2 separate regions of the Homo sapiens genome follow, and region 2 is linked to region 1. The links are contacts of gene promoters, found by promoter capture Hi-C in blood cells and fetal thymus (Javierre and others, 2016). All regions are on one chromosome and are shown on one strand. The core of a region is centred on a gene start or on the middle of the fragment in contact, and the rest is flanking DNA. Distances in the headings are between cores, read along the strand shown. Region 1 holds the start of COG3 (component of oligomeric golgi complex 3). Region 2 holds the start of LINC00563 (long intergenic non-protein coding RNA 563).

Region 1 (3,156 bases), core at 261-2,760:
CTCTTCCAACTTCAAATTCTATTCTTTTTTTTTTTGAGACAGAGTTTAGCTCTTGTTGCCCAGGCTGGAGTGCAATGGTGCAACGTTGGCTCACAGCAACCTCCGCCTCCTGGGTTCAAGCGATTCTCCTGCCTCAGCCTCCCGAGTAGCTGGGATTACAGGCATGCACCTCCACGCGCAGCTAAGTTTTTTTGTATTTTTAGTAGAGACGGGATTTCTCCATGTTGATCAGGCTGGTCTCGAACTCCCGACCTCAGGTAATCCGCCCACCTCGGCTTCCCAGAGTGCTGGGATTACAGGTGTGAGCCACTGCGCCCGGTCTCAAATTCTGCTCTTAAAAGATCAGAGCCTTCATTTGGGAACATAGCCAGGCACTGATTTGTGCTATAAAGCCTGAATAAAGCCTTCAGACTTTACCCAGACAATGGTCAAAATTGCTACGAAGCTGTTTCCACCTGCCTTGACTCCAGGGAGGAGCAGGAAGAGGCCTCCATAACTTGTAGAAGATTGTCTGTTCTCCACCATTTATTTATTCAATCGTTTATTTATAGCAGTATGGACTCATGGGTATTTATTTTATTCTGTAAATTATGATCCAATACTATCATTATTTATTTTGTTGCTCAAATCTACAATATGATTTAAATGGTAGAGTAGAATTACATGTCTGTACCACAAATTATTATTATTATACATTTTGAGACAGTCTCACTTGATGCCCAGGCCGGAATGCAGTGGCAAGATCTCTGCTCACTGCAACGTCCACCTTCCAGGTTCAGGAGATTCTCCTGCCTCAGCCTCTCAGGCTGATTACTGGCATGTGCCACCACGCCTGGCTAATTTTTGTGCTTTTAGTAGAGACGGGGTTCAACCATGTTGGCCAGTCTGGTCTCAAACTCCTGACCTCAGGTGATACGCCCACCTCGGTCTCCCAAAGTGCTGAGATTACAGGCCTGAGCCCCCGCGCCTGGTCTGTGCCACAAATTCTTGATCCAGTTCTTCAATGTTGGACATTTAGGTTGTCTCCAGTTATTTGATACCATTAATGATGTCTGAGATACACACATCTTTGAATTTTTTATGTGTTTCCGTAAATTAGTTTTCTAGTAGGGGAATTACTGGATGTTGGAAAAGTTTATGCTTTTGGTTTTGATCCAAGAGGCATAAATTGTCAACATGCCAACATGGAAATCATACACTCCACACATTCTACCCAGACTACCCAGCTGTAAGCAGAGAGGTGTAGATCCAAGTCTCCTGCCGGCAGGGTGATTTAGCGCAGTTGTCAATAATCTGTACAACACGTAACAATAAAGTTATTGATGTTGAGGAAAAGACTTCCGGTAGGGGCATTTCTATTTCCATTGGGTCCTGTCTTCTCCACCTTCTACGTTTCAACCGGAAATAGTCGTACCCATTTAAAGCCACGTCGGTACTGGCCTCGGTCCCGCCCCCCACACTGCGGAACCGTTTCCGGGGTCAGGGCATTCCGTCCCGCCCCGCCGCCGGTGCAGTGTTGGAAGCTCCGGTTCTCCCGGAAGTGGCCCAGGTCTCTCTGTCGGGGTCCCCTCCATCTCGCTGCTGCTGAAGGCCGCGAGGGCGGCGGCGATGGCGGAGGCGGCGCTGTTGCTGCTGCCTGAGGCGGCGGCGGAGCGGGACGCTAGGGAAAAGCTGGCTCTCTGGGATCGGAGACCGGACACGACGGCGCCGCTGACCGACAGGCAGACGGACTCGGTATTGGAGCTGAAGGCGGCGGCAGAGAACTTGCCGGTGCCAGCTGAGGTGAGGTGATGGGCAGGAACCGGGCCGGGGCGATGGGGCTGGGATTCTCCTCGGGCGCCCCGGCAGGACCCCGGCCTCACTAGCCTCTGCCCAGGATATCTCTCCACTCCTCCCTGGCCATGGTGGCGGATCCGGTGGGAGGGGCCTCATCTCCCAGGCTGTCAGGCTTCGCTCTGCCTGCGACCCCGACTCTAATTCTGCCTGGGGACGGCTGTGGGGGTGTCCTGCAGCTGGTGCTCGCCGGAACCCAGTCCTCCCCCAGCAGCATGGGACGGTTGGCCCGGAGCCTTGCACCGAACGTTTTGCCCCAGACGAGGCGTCCTGTCAGCCGAGGCGTAATCCTGCTGCCCACTCTCTCCCAGAAGGAGAGGCAGTCAACCCGAGGTGCTGTGCTGCAGGACAGTCTCCAGCGCGTGCTCGTTTACCGCCTTAATGATTCACCTAGGTTGCTTTGTCCATGGGGGTCTTGGGGAGACCAAAACTTGGTCCTGAGTGAGTTTCATTTATCGCACATTGAACTATGAGCTCTCAATCAAGTGCAAGTTATGGGAGATCAGATTTATTTCACCTATTGCAAAGCAATAAAAATGAATTTTATTTGAAAGTTGGCTCAGTACATTATTAAGCAGTGCTGGTTTTCGGTGTTAGAGTCAATGTGTTTAATCCACTTACCATTAGGATATTATGCACTACTGCTTCTTGTGTGATTCAATTCAATTAGTTGTAATAGCAGGAAGTAACATGAATTGTCAGATGTTTGACAAACGTTTTCCAGTTTTGAGGGCCAGGTTTAGGAGGATTATTTTATATAAGCAGTGGTGATGGTTACTTTTGATGTTGGAAGCATTCTTTTCTCTCGCTCTGTCGCCCAGGCTGGAGTGCAGTGGCGTGACCTCGGCTCACTGCAACCTCCACCTCCCGGGTTCAAGCGATTCTCCTGTCTCAGCCTCCCGAGTAGCTGGGATCACAGGTGCCTGCCACTACACCCGGCTAATTTTTTGTATTTTTAGTAGAGATGGGGTTTCGCCCTGTTGTCCAGGCTGTTCTCGAACTCCTGACCTCAAGTGATCTGCCCGCCTCGGCCTCCGAAAATGCTGGGATTACAGTCGTGAGCCACCGTGCCTGGCCTGAAGCATTCTTTTTATACGATTTGGAATTGTGTCCAAATGCAGATTGAGTTTAGAGTCTTCAACTTTTTCTGTCCTCCAACTTTAGAGATTTGATTTAAACGTTCTCTTCACATTCACTGTTGTATGCTCAGCCATCAAATAGGCGTTCTTTCTTGGGTTTCTTTTTCCACCTCTAGGATATGGTACCGGAAGTGGATCTGAAATCAATGAAGGCGCAGGTGGAAATTTCTTTGGCTCAGCTATC
Region 2 (3,156 bases), core at 221-2,720, 830 kb after region 1:
CCAAATAATACCACTATAAAACGTGTCTTCAAAAAAGCTGTATCTTCCAAAAGATGATGTAACAGTTGCTCTAGGGAGGCAATAGCAATGTTCAGATGAATGGTGAATTCCTTTCCTATTGCTGCTCTAACAAATTACCACAAATCAGTGGCTTAAAACAAAACAGCTTTATTACTGCACAGTTTTGGAGGTCTGAAGTCTGAAATGGGTTTCACTAGGTACAAGTCCAGGTGTCAGCAGGGGTGTGTTCCAGCTTCTAGAGGCTTCCTGCATTCCTTCGCTCATGGCCTCACTCCTCCATCTTCTAAGCCAGCAATGTCAGGCTGAGCCTTCCTCATGCTGCCGCCTTTCTGATTCTTTCTCTCCTGCCTCTCTCTTATAAGGAACATTGTGATGACATTGGACCCACCCAGATGATCCCAGATAGTCTCACCATCTCAAGGTCAGCTGATTATCAACCTTAATTCAGTCTGGAACCTCAAGTCTCCCATTGCCATGTGACATAACATAGTCACAGGTTCCAAGGATTAGGATGTAGATATCTTTGGGGGGCTATTATTCTCCCTATCACAAAAGGGAACACCAGAGTCTTCAGTTTAGCAATCTTCAAGGAATGTTGACAAAGCAAGAATCTGAGGCTTTGAGAATGTAGGTAATTTTCCCGAAGACATTCTGCAAGTAGGAGATAGAGCTGGAACATGACCAGATCTGTCTGCCAAGTAAGCCCAGGCTCATCCTCCACACGCTGCCCCCATCAGGAGGCAACCTGGCCCCTTCTACTGAATCTCTACATCAGATGGAGCCTGCATATGACTCAGCAGAAACCTCAGAGGAAATTCTGCTTCCTTCAGGAATTTCAGGGCATGGTGGTGATTGGAAAGAGTCAGGACAGTTGGCCTTTACTTCATATTGCATCACAACCACTAAGTGGCTTTGGGAAGTTTGCTAAAACTTTCAGGTTCTAAGGATCCTCGGCTGTGAAACCAGGAACTTGGACTAGATGGTGTCTAAGACATCTTTCAGTTCTAAAATTCTATAATTGAATGGTCTTATGGGTAAAACCACTTTGCTGCAGAACAGTGCCACTCAGAGCATAGTTTGTCGACCTCTGTCAGTCCAGAGTATTCGGTACCTGTCCATGACAAGATAAGGAGCTTAAGCCAAAATGTTAACCAACTACATCAGTAAGTGCACTGTTCAGTACTGCTGCCATTTGATTTTTTGTAGCAAGGCTTTCGTGGTGAAGGAAGCAGTGTGTTGATTTACTTCCTGGCATAATCTTCTTATCTCATTGCAGATTGTTAGCAAATAGTTCCTGGATGAGATTCTGAATAATGCTGATGTAGAAAAAACATTAAAGTTCAGAGGTGAATATGTGCTTAATATCTGAAAATTTTTAGAGAATGACAGCTGGTTGTTCTTGCCTCACAGAAAGGAATAGTATCCAGTAAGTATTTGTAAAAATACAAATGATGAAACTATCTTTGGGATCTGTGATAGACTGCAGTATTTCTTCCAGATTATTTACACTCTCCCTGCAAGAAAATTATACATCCAGGTCTACTGCCATGGGCCTTCCTGTGGAATACATTTCTTCCCACTATTGACATCAGACTTGGGTCCAGGGACTTGCCTTGGTTAATGGAATGTGAGCAGATGGCTTATACCATGTCTCAGCAGAAGTTTTGGAAGTCATTCACGCCTGTAATCCCAGCACTTTGGGAGGCCAAGGCGGGCAGATCACTTGAGGTCAGGAGTTCAAGACCAGCCTGGCCAACACGGTGAAACCCTCTCTCTACTAAAAATACAAAAATTAACTGGGTGTGGTAGCGCACGCCTGTAGTCCCAGCTACTAGGGAGACTGAGGCAGAAGAATTGCTTGAACCCAGGGGGTGGGGGTTGCAGTGATCCAAGAGTGCGCTACTGCACTCCAGCCTGGGCGACAGAGCAAGACTCCATCTCAACAACAACAACAACAACAAAAATCATTGCATAGTTCAGCCATGGCTTTTTTTCTTCTCTTAAAAAATGTGGGGGCAGGGAGGGGAAGGAAGGGGGTGTCCTAGGTAGGGGTGAATCTTTCAGCCTGTAAACCAGAATGAAGAAGACATGTAGAGCAGAGCTATAGTCAACCCTAGCTGACATATATTGTAAGCAAAAAATAATCCTTTGTCATTGTCCCTGAGATTTTGGAATTGTTTGTTACTGCAACCTAACCGAACAAATGCTGGTAGAACAATTTGTATTCCTTTGGGTATATACCCAGTAATGGAATTGCTGGGTCAAATTGTAGCTCTGTTTTTAGCTCTTTGAGCAATCACCACACTGGTTTCCACAATGGTTGAACTAATTAACACTCCCACCAAGAGTATATAAGAATTCCCTTTTCTCTGCAACCTCACCAGCATCTGTTATTTTTTGACTTATTGATAATAGCCAATCTGACCAGTGTGAGATGACATCTCATTGTTGTTTTGATTCGCATTTCTCTAATTAGTAGTGCATTCTTCTTTCTATTAGTAAGTACAACAAAGTTTTTACCTCAATAGCCTCATGGCCCAGTCAGGACTGCTTTATCTCAAAAAGCAAAGCAGAAACTACAGCTATTATGAAGTCAATGACAGTAGCATTGTTTACCCCCAGGCAAATAGATTTCTTATTGCTGAGAGCATACCCACCTCCTCCAACACACACACACACACACATACAGGATATGGATTAAGTTGAATGGTTCAAGTGTTTTATGTTTTCATAGCCACACTCCACTTCCAATAACTTACAAAGTCCTGTCAGTTCTACCTCCACCTCTTACATGTCTCTCCAATGTCTCTGGTTCCACTGCCACTATTCCATTCCAGGCCATCATTATCTCTCATCTGGACAATTGTGATAATTTACTAAGTGGTATGGCCATATACATCAACTCTTCCCCCACTCTAGCTAGCTTGCTATATAATTCTACAAAAGTCAGGGCTGGGCATGGTGGCTCATGCCTGTAATCCCAGCACTTTGGGAGGCTGAGGTGGGCAGATCACGAGGTCAGGAGATCGAGACCATCCTGGCTTGATCTCCTGTCTCTACATGGTGAAAACCTGTCTCTACTAAAAATACAAAAAATTAGCCGGGCGTGATGGCGGGCACCTGTAGTCCCAGCTA

The links. Contacts are between HindIII fragments. The CHiCAGO score rates a contact against its expected background, and 5 or more counts as called.
Region 2: a fragment that was not itself captured here is called in contact with the fragment with the promoter of COG3 in region 1 in 1 of 17 cell types (total CD8 T cells); the score reaches 6.0 in total CD8 T cells.

The regions. Positions count from the first base shown.
Region 1 is chr13:45,463,429-45,466,584 of GRCh38, forward strand. It overlaps COG3 (component of oligomeric golgi complex 3), which reads left to right and starts at 1,511. Exons shown (of 23, transcript NM_031431.4): 1 at 1,511-1,782. The coding sequence starts at 1,609. The HindIII fragment of the contact is 5,472 bases long and covers 1-3,156 here.
Region 2 is chr13:46,296,298-46,299,453 of GRCh38, forward strand. LINC00563 (long intergenic non-protein coding RNA 563) reads right to left here and starts at 1,547. Exons shown (of 1, transcript NR_047493.1): 1 at 148-1,547. The region is part of intron 2 of LOC105370194 (a long non-coding RNA gene); the gene reads right to left. RefSeq lists an enhancer at 135-1,334. The HindIII fragment of the contact is 4,337 bases long and covers 1-3,156 here.